Linked DNA regions of Homo sapiens: region 2 is linked to region 1. The links are contacts of gene promoters, found by promoter capture Hi-C in blood cells and fetal thymus (Javierre and others, 2016). All regions are on one chromosome and are shown on one strand. Each heading gives the region's core, a stretch centred on a gene start or on the middle of the fragment in contact. The rest is flanking DNA. Distances are from core to core; before and after follow the strand shown.

Evidence for each region. Contacts are between HindIII fragments. The CHiCAGO score rates a contact against its expected background, and 5 or more counts as called.
Region 2: a fragment that was not itself captured here is called in contact with the fragment with the promoter of DHRS3 in region 1 in 1 of 17 cell types (neutrophils); the score reaches 5.2 in neutrophils.

Annotation. Positions count from the first base shown.
Region 1 is chr1:12,616,501-12,620,629 of GRCh38, forward strand. It overlaps DHRS3 (dehydrogenase/reductase 3), which reads right to left and starts at 1,710. Exons shown (of 6, transcript NM_004753.7): 1 at 654-1,710. The coding sequence starts at 848. RefSeq lists enhancers at 1,335-1,966, 1,967-2,598, 2,599-3,230 and a silencer at 3,466-3,717. The HindIII fragment of the contact is 18,116 bases long and covers 1-4,129 here.
Region 2 is chr1:12,095,491-12,099,619 of GRCh38, forward strand. It overlaps TNFRSF8 (TNF receptor superfamily member 8), which reads left to right. Exons shown (of 15, transcript NM_001243.5): 3 at 1,611-1,727. Among named protein-coding and RNA genes, the nearest start is that of TNFRSF8, 34 kb to the left of the region's middle. The HindIII fragment of the contact is 1,350 bases long and covers 1,060-2,409 here.

The DNA.
Region 1 (4,129 bases), core at 460-2,959:
GGGGGGGAGGGGACAGGGTTGAAGGTGAGAACAAGGGCTCTTTATCAGTAGCTGCTTACCCTGGCCTCCTCTTTCCTGCTTTCCAAACACCTGGGCCTCTCAGTGTCGGTCCGGCCAGACTACTGCATACAAGACCGCTCTTCCCTTTTCAAACCCAAACCAAGTACCCTCTCTCGTGTCTTCAGAGCTGCAGCCGCCCAGGTTGGGGCTGGGTAGCGGGTTGCCAAGGAAAATACGAGGCGCCAGCTAGCAGGCGGCTCCCAGCTCTACCCAGGAGTGCGCACACCCTGCACTCACCAGGGTGGCGGCAAGAAAAAGGGGGGAAGGCGGGGGAGGGGGGCACAACACCTTCCTTTGGGAGGCAGGAATGTGGGAAATGGTGGGTCTCTTAGGTTTCAGGGTGGGGGTGAATAGCCAGTCAGCCAGCCACCGATCCCAAAGGAGCGGATCAACTCTGAACCTGCCAAAAAAGACAGTCCGGTGCCCGGGAAATTTACAAGGTGAAACCGACTAGCTCAGCACTCGTGGGTGGCGCGGAGAAGTGGGGTGGCCGGCGACTCTCAGCTCCCGGGCGCGGGATCCCGCAGCGGCAGCAGGTGGGCTTACCCCCGCCCCTGCGGCCCCCCACTCCCTGGAGTCGCAGTGCCTGGTACCTTTCTGGCGCCGCGCTCCGCGAACTCGCGGGCGAGCTGACGCCCGATGCCTCTCCCGCCGCCGGTGATGAGGACGTTCTCCCGCGACAGGTCCCGCAGCTTGGCGGGCAGCACCAGTCCGACGGCTGCTTTCACCACCAGATAGATCATCTGTAGAGGGAACATCACCAGCGCGCCCAGCCGTTTCCACACCATCCTCCGCGCCGCGGAGCCGGGCAGGGGGCGAAACTCCCCGGGCCGAGCAATACAGGAATTAAAAAACACCCCGAACAATAAATAGTAAACCGAATAAGGAGGAGAGAGGCGTCCCACCTGGCCACTCTTGAAATCACCTCTTCCCAAATGCAAAGCACCGGGTGAGAAAAAGAAAAAAAAAAAAAAAAAAAAGATAAATTCTCCTCTGGGGGAGAAAAAGCGTCTCCTAAGGTTGGGACGGTAAAAGAGGTGGAGGGGGAAGCCGGAGGTGGAAAGTTCTAACAAGAAGTTTCTTGCCCCAGCAGCCGTTTCGGCTGGGGAATTCTCAGGTAATGTTTACAGACTGACAGAGGAGTTTAGGGAGGGGAAGAAAAAAAAAAAAAGGCACCAACCACACGCGCGCACCCTGCCTCGGTCCCGCGGTTTCAAAGTGCAAGATTAAAAAAAAAAAAAAAAAAAAAAAAAAAGCTGATTCCAAATTGTAGCGCCCCCACCCCCACCCCGTCTCCAGAAAAAAAAAAAAAAAAAAAGTGGGGGGAAAAAGTGCTTGGAGCTCCCAATTTCAGCCCGCGAAAGTCTCCCGACTCATTGCTATTCTTGGGCTCAGGAAATTGCTTAAACGCGATCTGATTGCCAGCAACGTGCAGGAGAAGTGGGGGGTCCGGGTGTCAGTTTCTTTACGTGCAGCGCTCGCCCTCGCGCGCGCTCGCTCGCTCCGGCTCCCTCCCTCCCTCTCTGTTCCAGCAGAGGCTGGGAGTTGCCGCTCGATCCAGCTCCCCTTCTCTCCCTTTTTAGCATTTATTGCCTTCTTTTTGTCCTTTCCAACTTGGAGAGGGTCCGGGTGTGGAGCGCGCGTGGATCGGACGCCTTGGTCTGCGCGGCCCTATTCATTCGCTCCCCGGGCAGCCGCGTCGCGGAGAGGGCGGCCCCTTTTTCCCCCATTTTTTCAATACCCCATTAAGTCTGATTGACAGTTAAAGTTGTTGGGAGGCTTCACTACCGTTCCTCTGAGTGGCTGCTGCGGCCTCCCCTCCCCCTGCGCCGTCGCGGGGAGCGCGCATAAGGCGCGCACTCGGGCTCGCCGGGACTCGCGCTCTCCCGGGACTGGCTCCCCTCTCTGCAAGCCGGGACTTGCCGCCGGTGTCCCTGAGGGCTCGCAGCTGTAACTCGAACACGCTGGAACCGACTCCGGCGAGCCGGCTGCCTTCTCGAGACGTTCCTCCTTGCCCGGGCCGCCCGCGGGCCAGGTGATCACCCCGAGTGTGGAGCAGGCCCGGGGGAGCTTGCGTATGCCTTGATCCAACCAGGTCACCCAGGGTTTTATTTCAGGTCATTTGGTCATCCTCGGCCTCCAGGTAGGATCAGGAAGCCACTCCTCACCTTTGCCCGGACCTCTTCTGTGTTCACGTAGAGTGGACTTTTAAAAGCCTGACCCAAGTGCCTCACGATGCTTAGGGGGAAGCCGCTGGGGAGCAGGACTTTGCTTTGAGGGGAGGGAGTAGTCAAGGTAAAGGAACCTCTGCTCCGAGTGCCAATAAAATCCCCACAAGATTAGCTGGGAGCATATTTATTGCTCATCTGAGCTAGAATTACCTTGACTGACACCAATTTCCTTAATAACAAAAGCCTGTAAACAAAACGTCCTATTCGTGCGCCCCTGTGCTGTGCAGCCAGCGTCTCCTGTCCTTGGGTCTCCCTGGACTGCCCTGGCGGGGCACCCACCTTCTAACCTCCTGCCCTTCCCGACCGGAATGTCTCCCCTGCTGGAGGGTGGGACCGAGCTATTTAGAGTTGTCTGTTGCAGGAAGTCTGGGAGGTGAGTCACTAAAAAGCAGCCCCAGTTCAAAGTGCTGATGGGACTTGCCTCCCGCCCCCCTGCACGTTCCCGGGGCCGGAGGAGCGAGAGCGAAGCAGGGAGCTGCCCTGTAATCTGGGGCAGCCGTTTCCAGCCCGCGACTTGTTCAGACGGCGATTCCTGGGCCTCACCCCCAGAGATTCTGATTCAGCAGGGCTGGGTGCGCTGGGATCGGTACTTTCAATGCTCCGCCTGGTGAGAAAGTCACTTCGAAAAACGCTGATCTGCGGGGAGGGGAGGCTGGGATTACCTCGTCACCTGCAAAGACCTAGTTCTGGGGAGAGGTTCTGCAGGGGAGGATCTTCCTTCTGGGTGAAAAGCCACTGGAAGAGCAAAAGGCAGGAGAGGCTTAGGATGAGCAACTGTCCTGCACTGAGGGCCTATATTCTGACACAGTCCTTCCCCTGACCTTGCAATCGGGGGACTGTTATCCCATCGTCCAGGTTACCCAGCCAGGAAGTGCAGGAGGGGGGATCCCAATCCAAACCTCTTCCCACTCTGACCAGACGGGAGGAGAGAAGTGGAGGATGGGGTTCAGCTAAGGGTTGCAGAGCAGAGACCCCCCCACCCCCCTAACGCCCCCAAGAGTCTGACCGAAGGGCGGACCAATGTCTCCATCAGACCCCAGGGCCGGAATCCATTGTGGTGACGGCCTCCTCTCATCTTCGAGGTCTGTAAAAATGGGAAAGCGATTCCAGCCTGGGAGTGACAGGCCTTTCCCACCCAGCAGCGGCTGGTGTCCGCCAGGCCTGCGAAGAAGCCTGGAAAGATCTGAAGACAGAACCAGGCTGCAAAAGCGGGCTTTGCTCATCTGTTGTCCTCGGAGCCGCCTGGTGGCCCAGATAGGATACTGCGCCTCCGAGCTGCCCGGCCTCCAACCCAGCGGCGTTCCTGCTAACTAGCCATGCTTTTCTTCCAGGCATTTCTCTCATGTAAGGTTAACACCCCAAGTCTAAAAGGGCTTGTGAAGATCATAGTCCTCCTCCCCCACCCCAAACACACTTTTATGGCTGGGGAAACTAAAGCCAAAAGATATGAAGCAACTCATATACAGAGATGCATTTTCACCCCGGTCAGATGCCAGACCGGCTGGGTAACCGTTAGGTCCCTCTTACATCTCTCTGGTTGTGTGCCTGGGATGGAGGGCAGACGGTGGGAAGGAGGTCGGGAACCCAAATTGGCCTTTAGTGCCTCAGGGCCTTTACACAGTTTCTGATTGAATTTCCTTAACAGCCCAGGGAGGCTCGTGCCCATTTATTGCAGGAGGAAACAGGCTCAGTAAATCTAAGTAACTTGTGCAATGCCACGCAACCTGCTTCTCAAAAGGTTTGGGATGAAATCAGAGGGAAAAAGAACATGTCAGACATTCCCCAAAGGAACTGACAGTTCCAGAAGCTGGCCTGAGGTGGATGGTGGCCTTTTTTTC
Region 2 (4,129 bases), core at 485-2,984, 520 kb before region 1:
TTGGCCAGGCTGGTCTTGAACCCCTGACCTTATGTGATTCACCCACCTCGGCCTCCCAAAGTGTTGGGGTTACAGGCGTGAGCCACCGCACCCGGCCTGTTACTATATGTTATTTTGTTTAATGCTTTGATAACCATATTCCAAGGTAGTTGGATTCCTCTGCATTCCTGCATATTTTATTCATGAATTCATGATTCTGTGCAGTGTCCACAGGCTTCCTTAGAATGATTAGGGGCACAAGAAATATTGGGAACCCCCTGGTCTATTTTCATTGTAACTGGCAGAAGGGCTCAAATAAGACAAAAGAGAAATAATTGGCTCCCTAACAGAGAAGTCCATGGACACCCTACATTCAGATGTTTGAACGATGTCCTCAGGAGCCCATTTCTCTCCAACTCTGGCTTCTGCTGGCTTCTGAGTCACCTCCTTCTTAGGCAAGTCCTGCCCACACCATGCCCACGCTCAGGCTGTGATGACCTGGGCAGCTCTGGGCTTAACTAGCCCTTTCAGCCAGGAATCCAGTAGATAAACGGAGGACATCTTTCTGGATTGCTTTTGTGAAACTCTCAGAGATGAGGCTTATTGGCTGGCATGCCTGGGTCATGTGCCCATACTAAACTAATCACAGTGGTGAGGAACATGGAGTACTCTGATTGGCCTGCTTGGGTCATGTGGCAATCCTGAGCCAATTATATTGATGGGAAGAAGTATTCTGATTGGCCTGCTTGGGTCATGTGCTCATCCTGGAAGCAAGGTAGGCAGCGATTGCTGGGTGACTTGTTTATCTCGAAATCAGGCTGGATTAGGGTCTTAGTGGCAGGAGTGTCCAATCTTTCGGCTTCCCTGGGCCACATTGGAAGAAGAAGTGTTAGTGTGGAAGAAGTGAATTTAGTCTAACACTAAGGATAGTGTTTTAGCTTATAGCTGATGAGCTAAAAAAAAAAAAAAAAAAAATCACACACACGCAAATCTCATAATGTTTTAAGAAAGTTTATGAGTTTGCGTTGGGCCTCATTCAGAGCTGTCCTGGGCCGAATGCGGCTAGTCGTGGGTTGGACAAGCTTGGTCTAGACTTTCATGGTCTAAAGTTATGGCTCTCCTAATTCCTGCAGTGAGATAAGACCCCTGCAGAGAATGATGACAACCGGTGCTCATATAGTGCTTGTTGGGTGCCAGGGACTGCTGTAGTACTTTATACATATTTATCTTCACAGTCCATTCAGTCCTTTCAAGAACACTAGGAGGTGGGTCCTATTACTAACTTAATAGTGCTAAATATATACACGTACTATGTACCCTCACACACACACACACACAAATAGTGCTGACAAGGTCATTATCACGCAATTGGCAAATGGCAGCCCTAGAATCCCAGGCCCAGCTCTTCTCTATAACTATGTTGCTTTTCCTTGCCTGCTAGGGGACCTTAGGCGAGGGTTGCCCCTCCTGGGTGTCAGTGCTTCCATCCATAACACAAGAATTGGACTGACAGTTTTCGGGGGTTGGAGGTGGAGCTGGGAGGGGCGTCAGGGATGAGAGGTGTGGGGCATTGGGTCATAAGGCCTTTGCTAAGTCAGCCTGGCTTGGAGCTTCTCTGTTTCTTTTCCCAGGGCTGTTCCCGACACAGCAGTGCCCACAGAGGCCTACTGACTGCAGGAAGCAGTGTGAGCCTGACTACTACCTGGATGAGGCCGACCGCTGTACAGCCTGCGTGACTTGTTCTCGAGGTAAGGGCCTTGTTCTCTCTCCAGGGCCTCCTTCTAGGGAGCATGAGGGGTCCTCAGAGGAGAGGTGAAGAATCTGGAAGGTGGAGAGCATCATGATTTGATGTCTGTTCTCTGAATTGTCCTCCTGGTGCCTCAGTTTACCTCTCTGCATTTGTGATTTGATATCAGCCATGACCTTTTGCATCCATACTTTCACAGAGACTTAACATGTTTCCTGAAGGAGAGGACTCACATTTTTTTGAGTTTAATCCTCACCACAGCCCTAGGGGAGGATTTCTTGCTTATCCTTACTTTACAATGAGGAATTTGAGGATAGGGAGGTTAAGGGCCTTTCCAAAGTTACAAAACTCTGGTAAGTGGCAGAACTGGAGTTTGAGTTGTGGCCTGACACCAAGAGCTGTGTTCTTTTCCTAAGATCACAGGACTTCCAGGAAAACTGTTTCAGTATGACCTTTTATTGTTAGTCTCTTATTATGGTTAGAGAATGCAGTCTGTGTGCTATCTAGTGTTTATTTTTGTGTGGATTTTTTTGGGGGGTAGGGTGGGGGAAATTTGTTGAGATCTTTTTGTGGTCTAATAAATAATAAATGATCATGTATTTTCAGAGTGTTCAGTGTATGGGTGTTTTAAAATGTGTATTCTGTTTGTTGCGTATAAAGTTCTCTACATATCTATTAAGTTAAGCTTGTTAATTGTGTTATTTAAATAATGTGTACCCTTATTTACTTTTATCACCTTTATTTCTGAGAGATGTGTTAAAATCTTATCTCCCAGTATACTTGTTCATCTATTAGATTTTCATTGTGTTCTTTCTATTTTTGCTTCATATATGTCAAAGCTATGTTATTAGGTACATAAATGTTCATGAATGTTATGTTTTTTTGGTGGGTTGGGCTTTTTATCCACATGAATATACCTCTCCATTCCTTGTAATGCCTTTTCCCTTAATTTCACATTTGTTTGGCATTAATATTGCTATTCCTTCCTGGAAGAAGTAGCAAAGGTTAAAAAGAAAGAAAAGTAATAATAATATTGCCATTTCTTCTTTCTTTTTATTAGCATTTATCTGGTGTATCTTTGAATTTCTAAAAGTAATGACTGCATTTTATGAAATGAAAATTATAAACATTTATTATTTAAAATTCAAGCAATACAAAGAGTGTAAGGAAGAAAACAAACATTGCCCTCCCCAGCCCTCCATCTATAGATAACTACTATTATCATTAGATGGCTGACACGCCTCTACCTCTCTGTATAAAGATGGGTAGGTTAGTAACCAGACAGCCTGTACACACTTACAAAGAAGGAATTTTAAGAGAATGGCAACATATTTATGGCATTAAAATGATAATATTTAATTTTAGTCAAAAGTATCAGAAAAAGAAAGCGAAGTGAAACAGAAGAATGCCAAACCTCAGTCAGATTAATGTATCTTCAGCAAAAGATACTGCAATTCCTTTAAAAAAAAAAACCCTCTAAAATTAAGAAAGGAGGTTATGAAAATCAGTAAGTGGTTAATAATCATTTCAGAATCTACTATCTCTTGCAGTAAAGGCAAAATCTGCTTAGTTTGAGTTTTGGACAGTAGAGAATAGATTGACTCCCTGTAATGAAGAACAAAGTAATTATTTTTCCCACCTCCTCATCCTCTTCCTGACTTTTATTCCTTACACAAATTTTACTTTGTCATAATCTATAATGTTTATATTCTCATCTGCAACCATAAGTCCCTTGGCATGTTAGCCTTAACATTTTTTATTATTCATGATGAGTTTATTTGGCACAGCTTCTCTGTTCCTGAGTTTTTCACTTTGATTCATCATTTGAGTGATTGGATTACACTGTCAGGTGGATTTTTCAAGAAGGGCTCGTCTTTGCAATATTCTCTGTTATTTCATGTTTGAGGATGCTTGTCTGTTGCCTATATTTTTGTTTTCTTTTTTTTCTTTTTGAGACAGAGTCTGACTCTGTCGCCCAGGCTGGAGTGCAGTGGTGCAATCTCGGCTCACTACAACCTCTACCTCCTGGATTCGAGCGATTCTCCTGCCTCCTGAGTAGCTGAGATTACAGGGATGCACCACCACGCCTGGCTAATTTTTGTATTTTTAGAAGAGATGGGGTTTCATCATGTTGCCCAGGCTGGTCTCAAACTCCTGACCTCAAGTGATCCAGCCGCCTTGGCCTCCTAAAGTGTTGGGATTACAGGTGTGAGTCACCATTCCCGGCCCAATTTCTTATCTTTAAATTTTAAGACAGGGTCTCACTTTGTTGTCCAGGCTGGCCTTAAACTCCAGGGCTTAAGTGTTCCTCCTGCCTCAGCCTCCCGAGTAGCTGGGGCTGCACTTGCATGTTACTGCACCCAACTTACAATTTTTTTGTGTGTCTCTGAGGATATAAATTAT